Regions from separate parts of the Homo sapiens genome. Here region 1 is linked to region 2. The links are contacts of gene promoters, found by promoter capture Hi-C in human tissues and cell types (Jung and others, 2019). All regions are on one chromosome and are shown on one strand. The core of a region is centred on a gene start or on the middle of the fragment in contact, and the rest is flanking DNA. Distances in the headings are between cores, read along the strand shown.

Region 1 (4,889 bases), core at 2,049-4,548, 240 kb after region 2:
TGGCTACATAAACAGTAAGCAGAGAGCATGTATGAAGATATAGGTGCCTTTCAGTCAGGATGAGGTCAGGAAAAGAGACTCAGCATCAGTTTGTTAACAGAAGAAATTTCACAAAAGGAATTAGATAACAGATACTGGAGAGCTGAAAAGGCAAAGGCGACCACTGCAGCGACACCCTCCAGGCCAGGAGAATAAAGGGGGCAAGGATGGGGTTTTTAGAAGCTCAGGGAAAGGTGCTGATGTCTCAGCAGCTCTGAAGAGGGTCAGATGCCATTGAGGCTGTTGATGGTGTCTGGGTGACTTGGACGAGGGTCCCTGCATGCCAGGCTCAGGCATCAAAGTAACAGGCACTGACTGGCTGGGCAGGTGGCTCTAAGAGAGCATAGTGAGTCTAGTTCTGGAAGTATGAAAAGAACTGGAACCAACTGCCACCACTTGGGGCAAACAGTTGCTTGGGTGAGAAGCAACTGTTTATTATAGGAACCAAACTCAAAACAGAAAAGAATAAGCCCCTCCTCAACCTACAGAATGGGAAAAATTTTTGCAATCTACCCTCTGACAAAGGGCTAATATCCAGAATCTACAAAGAACTTAAACAAAGTTACAAGAAAGAAACAAACAACCCCATCAAAAAGTGGGCAAAGGATATGAACAGACACTTCTCAAAAGAAGACATCTATGCAGCCAACAGACACATGAAAAAATGCTCATTATCACTGGTCATCAGAGAAATGCAAATCAAAACCACGATGAAGTATCATCCCATGCCAGTTAGAATGGCAATCACTAAAAAGTCAGGAAACAACAGATGTTGGAGAGGATGTGGAGAAACAGGAATGCTTTTACACTGTTGGTGGGAGTGTAAACTAGCTCAACCATTGTGGAAGACAGTGTGGCAATTCCTCAAGGATCTAGAACTAGAATTACCTTTTGACCCAGCAATCCCATTACTGGGTATATACCCAAAGGACTATAAATCATGCTACTATAAAGACACATGCACACGTATGTTTATTGCGGCACTATTCACAATAGCAAAGACTTGGAACCAACCCAAACGTCCATCAATGATAGACTGGATAAAGAAAATGTGGCACATACACACCGTGGAATACTATGCAGCCACAAAAAAGGATGAGTTCATGTCCTTTGCAGGGACATGGATGAAGCTGGAAACCATCATTCTCAGCAAACTATTACAAGGACAGAAAGCCAAACACCGCATATTCTCACTCATAGGTGGGAATTGAACAATGAGAACACTTGGACACAGGGAGGGGAACATCACATACCGGAGCCTGTTGTGGGGTGAGGAGCTGGGGGAGAGATAGCATTAGGAGAAATACCTAACGTAAATGATGAGCTGATGGGTGCAGCAAACCAACATGGCCCATGTATACCTATGTATCAAACCTGCACGTTGTGCACATGTGCCCTAGAACTTAAAGTACAAAAAAAAAAAAAAAAAAAAAAAAAAAAGAATAAGCCCGTCCTGACGGCATGAGCCTCCTTCCAGTCTCCCTCTAGTGCCCCCTAGTGACAGAATTTGAGAAGGATCTGGCAAAGGAGGGCTGGACCTGGTAAGGTCCCAACGCAGTGTGACACAGCAGGATATATAGGAAGAGGTCAGGAGGTAAGGAGCAAAGGCTTAATAACCCAAACAAGATGCACATGCACCTTATAATCCCGTCTACATGCAGGGAGGAAGGTAAAGCAGTAAACTAGGTTACTGTGTTCTGTGTATCACCCTTACTTAAATTTGGAATAACCCTAGGGGCTTTCTTAAATCAAAGTCTTAAATTTGTTTTGCCCATCCAGTGTTTCTAAATCAGATTTTTTTTAACTGTTCCTTCAGTTATATACCAAAAGTATCTCTACAAATTGATGTTAGGAACTTTCTGAGCCCTAAATCAATATAGTAAGAGAATCATTTCTGGGTAGAATGAAAAAGAAATTTTCAGACTGGGTTCATGCTTATATTCTATACGAAGCCTAGCCCTGCTTTTCCAAAGAAGTAGTGACACATATGGAAATGACAACCAGCAAGACCCAAGTCTGACAAGGAGGCTGAATTGCCCCTTTAGAATTATCATTTCTGCCACCTCCCAGCACTTTACCACTTACCTAAAAGAAGACAAAATAATAGACTCTTTTGCTTCCAGTACCTATAATGTACATTTCCAGGTTTGTTTTGGAGTACAGCTGTGAAATCCTTCAGCACTGACATAATTCTCTTCCCTCCAATTGTGAAGTGTTCTTTGAGCAATGTAATTGTTCCCCACTGCAATTCTTACAGCAGCGTGTCAGCATGCCAATCACTTCTTCTTCTTCCAGTTCTGATTCTTCCAGTTCCCTGCTGTGTTAACACCCAGAATGAGTCCTTCCAGCTGTTGAAAGATGTCAGCATATTTATATGAACTACTTTATGTTTCCTGGGGAAATGTTCTAAAAGAAAAGAGATCTTGGCCGGTATGCTTGTGATTCTGCAGAGATGTGACTTGGCTTGCATTTATATTTTCTTTGGGGTCAGTAATAGTATTAAGTATTTCAAATGGCACATGTGACTACACAGTGTCACTTTATCTTAACTGAGCTTTGGTCATCTGTATTCCATTCAATTAGACTACACATATCACTCAGATATCTCTTCTGGAAATGAGAAAATTTGTCTTGTGGTAGGTTCTCCCAGGAAAACCTTGAAGATATCATTTATTGCAATGTTGCTGGACAGCACAAACTCATGGAACTTTTTCTGACATTTCAAATTTCTCTTTATCTTATGTTTGCATAACATTTCTTGAAGATTTCTGAAGGTACCCACAATCTGAGTGTTACACATTTTTCTTTCACTGAAAAGGGAGTTTCTTCAAGATTCTATTTTTTTGTTTTTTTGTTTTTTTGTTTTTTTTTTTTTTGAGACAGTCTCACTCTGTCACACCTAGGCCAGAGTGCAGTGGCAGGATCTCAGCTCACTGCTATCTCCACCTCCCAGCTTCAAGCGATTCTCCTGCCTCAGCCACCTGAGTAGCTGGGATTACAGGCAGGCACCATGACACCCAGCTTATTTTTGTATTTTTAGTAGAGATGGGGTTTCACCATGTTGGCCAGGCTGGTCTCGAACTCCCGACCTCGGGTGATCCACCCACCTTGGCCTCCCAAAGTGCTGGGATTACAGGTGTGAGCCACTGTGCCCAGCCTCTTCAAGATTCTTGATAGGAATTGTTAAACCTCCTGTTACAGGCTGGATTGTATCTCCAAAAAGATGTATGGAACCTGACCCCTGGTACTTGTAAATGTGACTTTATTTGAAAATAGAGTGTACAGATATCATTAAGATGAATGTTAAGATGAGATCATACTGGAGTAGGTCAGGCCTTTAATCCAATATGACTGGTGTCCTTATGAAAGGAAGAGAGAGAGAGAGACAGAGGGAAGACAGCCGTGTGAAGATAGAGGCAGAGATTGGCCACAAACCGAGGAATACCTGGGGCTACCAAAAGCTGGAAGAGGCAAGAAAAGACCCTTCCTCCCCTAGAGGCTTCAGAGACAGCATATCATTGCCAACACTTTGATTTTGGACTTTTGGCCTCCAGAACTGTGAAAAAGTAAATTTACGCTGTTTTAAGCCACCCAGTTTATGGTACTTTGTTTCTGTAGCCTTAGAAAACTAATACACCTCTCAAATCTGCCAACTAAAATTTTAACAGAATAGATTTCTTTTTCACACTTTCCCTGTCTCTGCTTTCTTCTAAGTTAGTGCCTTCAGCACTAGTGAGCTCTTCCCTTCTTTTGCATTGGCTGAACACAGAAACAAAGAATTCTATAAACTCCTTCAAGGACACTCCTGGTAGATGCTGTGGCCCGTGCCTTTGCACGCACTGTCTGATAATTGTGGGGCATCCTGGGAATGGGTGCAGCATCGTTGGTGTTACATTTGGGACACTGTACATGCCCAGTTAGCACTGGCCACTGCTGTGACTAAAGAGAAAAGCCCACAAGCAAATTTTAGAACTCCCAGCATCTTCACCCAGTTCAATAAACTTGTTTCTTAGTTGCCCTGGATTTACAATCTTGTATTTCAATTCTCTACAAGCATGCTATTCTATAACAAGCAGAATCCCAGGACTGCCATAGGATACCTCTCTCTGATGTAGGTCCAGAGGTTTGTTTAGTTCCGAAAGAGCACTATCCCAGGCCTGCTCCCTCATGTGTGTGTCCCTAATTTCTCCTAATTATGATGATTCTGGATCTGCACTCTCTTAGTGTTCTAGGGGTCTCTAACCAGATACTTCCTTATTCTTATACCTCTATCGACAGTTCCATTTCAGAATGTCACAATGCTAAACATACCTGTGATTTCAAAGTTAAGTTATACCGGGGAGGATCATGAAATTTCATGTCCAAGCCAGGGCACTATTTTAGAGGAAAAGGAGATGTTTAAACAGTTAAAATTCTATAATATTGTTAAAATATATTAACCAACATTGATTTTTATTATATTGATGTACCTAAAAGATGAACTTTTTTTTTTTTGAGACAGAGTCTCACTCTGTCGCCCAGGCTGGAGTGCAGTGGTGCGATCTCGGCTCACTGCAAGCTCCACCTCCCGGGTTCACGCCATTCTCCTGCCTCAGCCTCCCAAGTAGCTGGGACTACAGGCACGTGCCACCATGCCCAGCTAATTTTTGTATTTTTAGTAGAGACGGGATTTCATCATGTTAGCCAGGATGGTCTCCATCTCTTGACCTAGTGATCCGCCTGCCTTGGGCTCCCAAAGTGCTGGGATTAGAGGCGGGAGCCACCGCACCCGGCCAAGATGGACTTCTTTAAGCTTTTAAAAATGAGATCTTTTCTAAAAAATAAAATCTATCTATATTAAAGCAGAATAA
Region 2 (4,890 bases), core at 2,164-4,663:
AGAGCCCCACTTCCTGAGCAAATGTGCATGGCCATAAAAATCCAAAACAAACAAGAGAAAGGGAGGGAAGCAGGTGCCAGGGCCCCAGAGGTGAAATTTGCTCCTCAACCATCAATTCTCAAAGTTTTCTGGAGGGCTTTCTGGAGCCTTTTAACAATCAGCTTATGTCTGATGGCATCAAACCCTCCTGGCAGCTCCCTGGACAGGGGGAAGTTGGCTGTACTATCCTCCATGTCTCTGAAGAACTCTCTCTCCCTTCCAACCCTCCCTGTTTCCACTGAAGACTCTCCCAGATCTGAAAAGCGGTTTGGGGACTGCCAGGAAAACATCAGGTCATAATACATCTATTGGGTACATGCTATTATTTTATTTTACCAGGTCAAAACACAAAGACTCACATTGTTAACCAAGATATGGCAGAGCCAGAATTTGAACCCAGGCCACCCAAGTTGAGGTTTCATTCCATTATATGACAACTCTATCCCTTCAATAAGTTGGACCCTAAAACTCCACCCCTACCCAAAGGAAAATCACAAAATACTCAAATTGTTGTTGCTCTTGTTCAGAGTCCAATTCCACTTGGCCATCCCAGGTTGTTTATTGCTATATGTCTCTGCTTCCAGTCTAGCAGCCTCCCCCATCAGACTGTGAACTCCCTAGATGCTAATATCTACCTTAGGAAAGGGGAGTTTCTGAAAACAATTAATTCCAATTTCACTTCTCCACTGTCCCTGGGTAGACAGACCCCACGCCAGGAGCTTATAAGCCTCTATACATCCACCCTGCAAAAAAGGAGAGCAGAACCTGCTCAACCCCACAGGCTGAAGAGGCTTGGCAAACTGGCACTTGGAGGCCAGAATCCCTGTTTTTTTTTTTTCCTTTGGAGCTGAAGCAAAGATAAGAAGAGCAATTCCTCCTTCAGTCAAAGAAGGACTCAGTTGGCCAGAAGGCTGCCTGGTTTCCCCGGTGGCCCCACCCACTCTGACTGCATTTTCTTCCCATCTATCTTGCTTCTCCTCCTCAGCCTCACCTCCTGGAAGCTCCCAGCTCACCCTCTCTCAGGCCAGACTCCCCAGCTTCTCACGTTTCTGGGCCTGAGCAAAGAACTGGCACTTCACAGAAGAAGGAGCCCTGAACCCCAGCCTCCAGCCCACAGCAGGCAGGCACCCAGTTCTTCTAGACAGGAGATGGAACTGGGAGCCAACCTTCCAGAGGCTGAAACAGAAATGCCAAGTTTGCTGTTTGCATCCCCAGGATGAGGGCAGGAAGATAAATAATTACATTCCTGGTCAGGAATTAGACCAGAAACTCTAAATTGAGGGCTGGGCAGGGGGCCTGAGCAGAAGCATGTGAGGAGGCCAGAGGGAGATGCAACTCTGCACTCCCAGCCAGAGTCAGAAGGGAAAGATGACATTCCAGCATCAGCAGAAGGGCCCAGGCAGCTGGCATGGTCGGCGGAGGATGACGGCTCCAAGTGCAGGCCTTTTGGAGCTTCTGAATCCTCCCTACAGGACTCTGACCCCCTTCAGCCTCTGATGTACCCCACAAGGAAATGACACTACCCTCAGGGCTCTGCTGTGTGTGGCTATATAAAGCTCCTGCCAGAGGGCAGCGACCAGACCAGGGCACAACCCCAAGACCTAGTTCCCTTGCTCCCCACCTTGAGTTCCAAATCGGCCCCCACACAAGAATAACAGCCCACATAGAACCTCTAGCCCTGGCCCCTGGGAACTTCACAGCCCAGGGAATGGCAGTTTCCTCCCTAGCTTTGCTCCTCCCCAGCAGCAGGGGGTCAAATTCCTGAAGCTTCCCCCTCCCCCAGTACTAGAAGGCCAATCAGGCCATGGAGGCCACAGCTGCCACCTCCCTGAAACATACACATGCGTACACACACACACGCGTACACACACACACACACACACACACTCCATTGTGGCCAGGGGAGGGGGTCATCATCTATAGCCATGCCTGTAACTCCAACTCAAGAGTGCAGGCTCTGACATGTTCCCTGTCCCTGCAGGTGTCTGTCCGTCTGCAGCTGTCTGCTGTCGCCGGGTGCATTTGGCAACAGTCTGGCTCAGTCCCTCTGCGGTCTCCACTCAGGCTCTCTTCTCCCTCCTGCTCTGGTTTTCAGAGGCTCTATCTCCCTAGAACTCTCTGTCTCTGTCCTTTGTACCGGGCTGATGGGAAGACGAGTAGGACACCTCCCTCAGAAGGTCTGTGCAAAGTAAGGCACTGTCCACCTCGGAACGGTCTACTGCTCTCCCTCCTCCCTGCCCAGGCCAACCTTAGAACCAGGGCAGGGCTGGGTGGGAGACAGAGACCTAGGAACCCAGGCATGGCTAATGCCACTTTCCATATTGCTTCATCATGCCATTCTGATGCCCCAAGCTGCACACACACACAATCCCCCTGATCTGCTTTCTGCCTGAGGCCAGCATAGGGTCCCTGAACCTGCCCTACCTGCCCCCACAAACTGCAACCATGCCTTCCTTCCTCCCATCCGCTCTGCATCAACCCTTCCGCACTTGGCTTTACCCCACCCCACCCAGTCCACAGAGCTCAGGGAGTCCCCGGCGCCCCCACCTAGCCCCCAGCAATGGCTCTAGCCAGGCCTTGCATGTGCGGAGATGCAACAGAGTGGTCTGGCGGCAAAGTTCTCCTGCTGTTTTCAACGGTTCCATCCACCCGTGGCTCCCCGTCTCTCCATCCGGCTCTCCAGTCTCACATGGACCCGGCTCTCCCCGCTCCCCGCCAGAGTTTCACCCCCACTGTAGGAAATAAAGACTAAAGAAAGGAAAGGAAATCTCTCGCGATAAGGATGGGCGAAAAGAGAAGGGGGTGTCCGCATGAGCACCTAGGATGCGGGGAGTCTTCAAGAGAAAAAGAAAGGGATGCAAAGTTCCCGGTTCCCTCGGGTGCGTTCAGCCCCGCGCCGAGCTCCCGCGGACACCCGGGATCGCAAAGACGCAGCGCCGGCGACCACTCACCTGGGCGAGGCAGCATCTACCCCCGGCTGGGTGGCACCGAGGCCGGCTCCGCGGGGCGCCCGGGCTCCCCGGCTCGGCCACGCATCCTTCCCCGCCCGAGACAGACTCGAGCTAAACCCTCCGGCGGCTCCGGCGAATGCAGGCAGATGGTGGCCTCGGACGTCCACGCGGGGAAAGCCCTGAGCCGCTTATTCAGTTATATCCATGGCATTTAGCAAGAAGAAGGGGGGAAAAGCACAACTTGTTCTCTTCTCTTCCAGATTAAAGAAAAATAATAATAATAATCCCTCCCTAGGAGGATGCCGGTAGGATTTTCCGGATCGAAGAACCCCAGGCATTCCCAGGAACCTCGGGCATCTTGGAATGTGGGGTGTCTTCAAGTTCAGACGAGCCTGCCGGGTTGTGTATGTGTGAGTGTATGTGTGTCTCAGCGAGAGGGAGCCAGGCACTCACACCCACACGCACACACAAACACACTCCCCCGTACTCCCCGCATGCACACTGCCCCCCACGCGCGCGCGCATACGCGCGTACCCGGTTTCTCTCTCCGCTCCACACACACACACACACACACACGCACACACACACACACACGGATCACACGCTCCAATCTGGGAGGGAGTCGGGCGGGCTGCGGAGACAGCGCAGGGCCAGCAGTGGAGAAAACCCAGCGGCCAGAGGCGCCCAGGAACCCGGCGGCCGTGCGCACCGTCCCCGCCGAGCTCTCCGGCGCGGCAGCCCCCAGTGGCGAACCGCGGAGCTGCAGGAGCCGAAGGCAGCCTCTGCGCCCGCTGCCCTGCCCGCTGCCGAGCGCACCCGCTTCCGAGACGACCAACACCGCCGCGGAAACCAGAGGGATTCACGGTCCTGGCAGGGGTGGCGCGGGGACGCACGGTGGGGCGGGAGTGGGCTGGGGCCGCAGTCGCGGAGGGAGGTGGGCAGGCCGCGAGCCCCGGAACCGGGAGGGCGGTCTCCGCGGTCCAGCGGCACGGGCAGCCCCTGCGGAAGGCGAGCCGGGCGGCCAGGGCTGCACCTCTGCAGCTGGCGACGGCGCTGCCACCTCACGTGCCTAGCGCGCCCTGCAGCCGTCAGCCCGCCGCCTGCTGGAGGAAAACCCGACCGCGCCGGCCCTAGGCTGGGAGTGGGGGCTGGGGCGATCGCGCCCACCCAGTCCTGGGGCCCAGTTCAGATTCTCGAATCCTGGTAAGGGACCTATGAATAACGAGCGCCCCGTGCACGCACACACACGCACTTTGACTTTTCATGATTATTACAAGAATCAGTGAAGGGTGCAGTGGCGCCAAGTGTTTGCACAGCATCTTTACAACTCTTCACTTGTTTGATCTTCTCAGCAACCCTCATTTGATGTATAAGGAAACTGAGGCCCAAAAGAGTAAAGTGACTTGTCCAAGGCATGTGGTAGGTAGCGGAGACCCTACTCAAAGCAGACTGTGAGCTCACAGTCAGAACACCCAGGTCTGGCCAAGGTCTCGTCTTTGGTTATCCTCTCGGTTCACTATAAACAACTAGTTACCAGAAAGGTAGGACCGTCCTCTGCCTTACTGGACTCCCCAAGAGGCATTTCCTTCCTTCTAAAGGAAATGAAATTTTGAGATTCCTGTTGGTACTCCAGCTGGTAAATCCAGGGGCAGGAAGAATGTCAATGTTGCAGTCCTTCTCTTCTCTCCTGGTGGCTAACACATCCCGTGCACCTGTCCCGGTTACCCACAGGGAGGCACATGTTGCATGTGGATGTGTCTCTGCAGCCCAGGATTGGCTCGGCTGGATACATCTGTAACATACGACCCTGTGTCCTCTCTACACACATGCATAACTGCAGAAGCCGAGGCAGCTGGTCCTCATGTGTGCACCCTCCACATGTGCACCCCGGGAAACTGCC

The links. Contacts are between HindIII fragments. The study calls those that stand out against the background at their distance.
Region 1: a contact is called between a fragment that was not itself captured here and the fragment with the promoter of LRFN2 in region 2, in 1 of the 25 tissues and cell types used here (H1 embryonic stem cells).

The regions. Positions count from the first base shown.
Region 1 is chr6:40,822,959-40,827,847 of GRCh38, forward strand. LOC105375053 (a long non-coding RNA gene) reads right to left here and starts at 2,385. Exons shown (of 3, transcript XR_926790.3): 1 at 2,125-2,385. The HindIII fragment of the contact is 3,126 bases long and covers 1,736-4,861 here.
Region 2 is chr6:40,583,951-40,588,840 of GRCh38, forward strand. LRFN2 (leucine rich repeat and fibronectin type III domain containing 2) reads right to left here and starts at 3,414. Exons shown (of 3, transcript NM_020737.3): 1 at 2,991-3,414. RefSeq lists silencers at 3,587-3,686, 3,777-3,846. The HindIII fragment of the contact is 16,487 bases long and covers 1-4,890 here.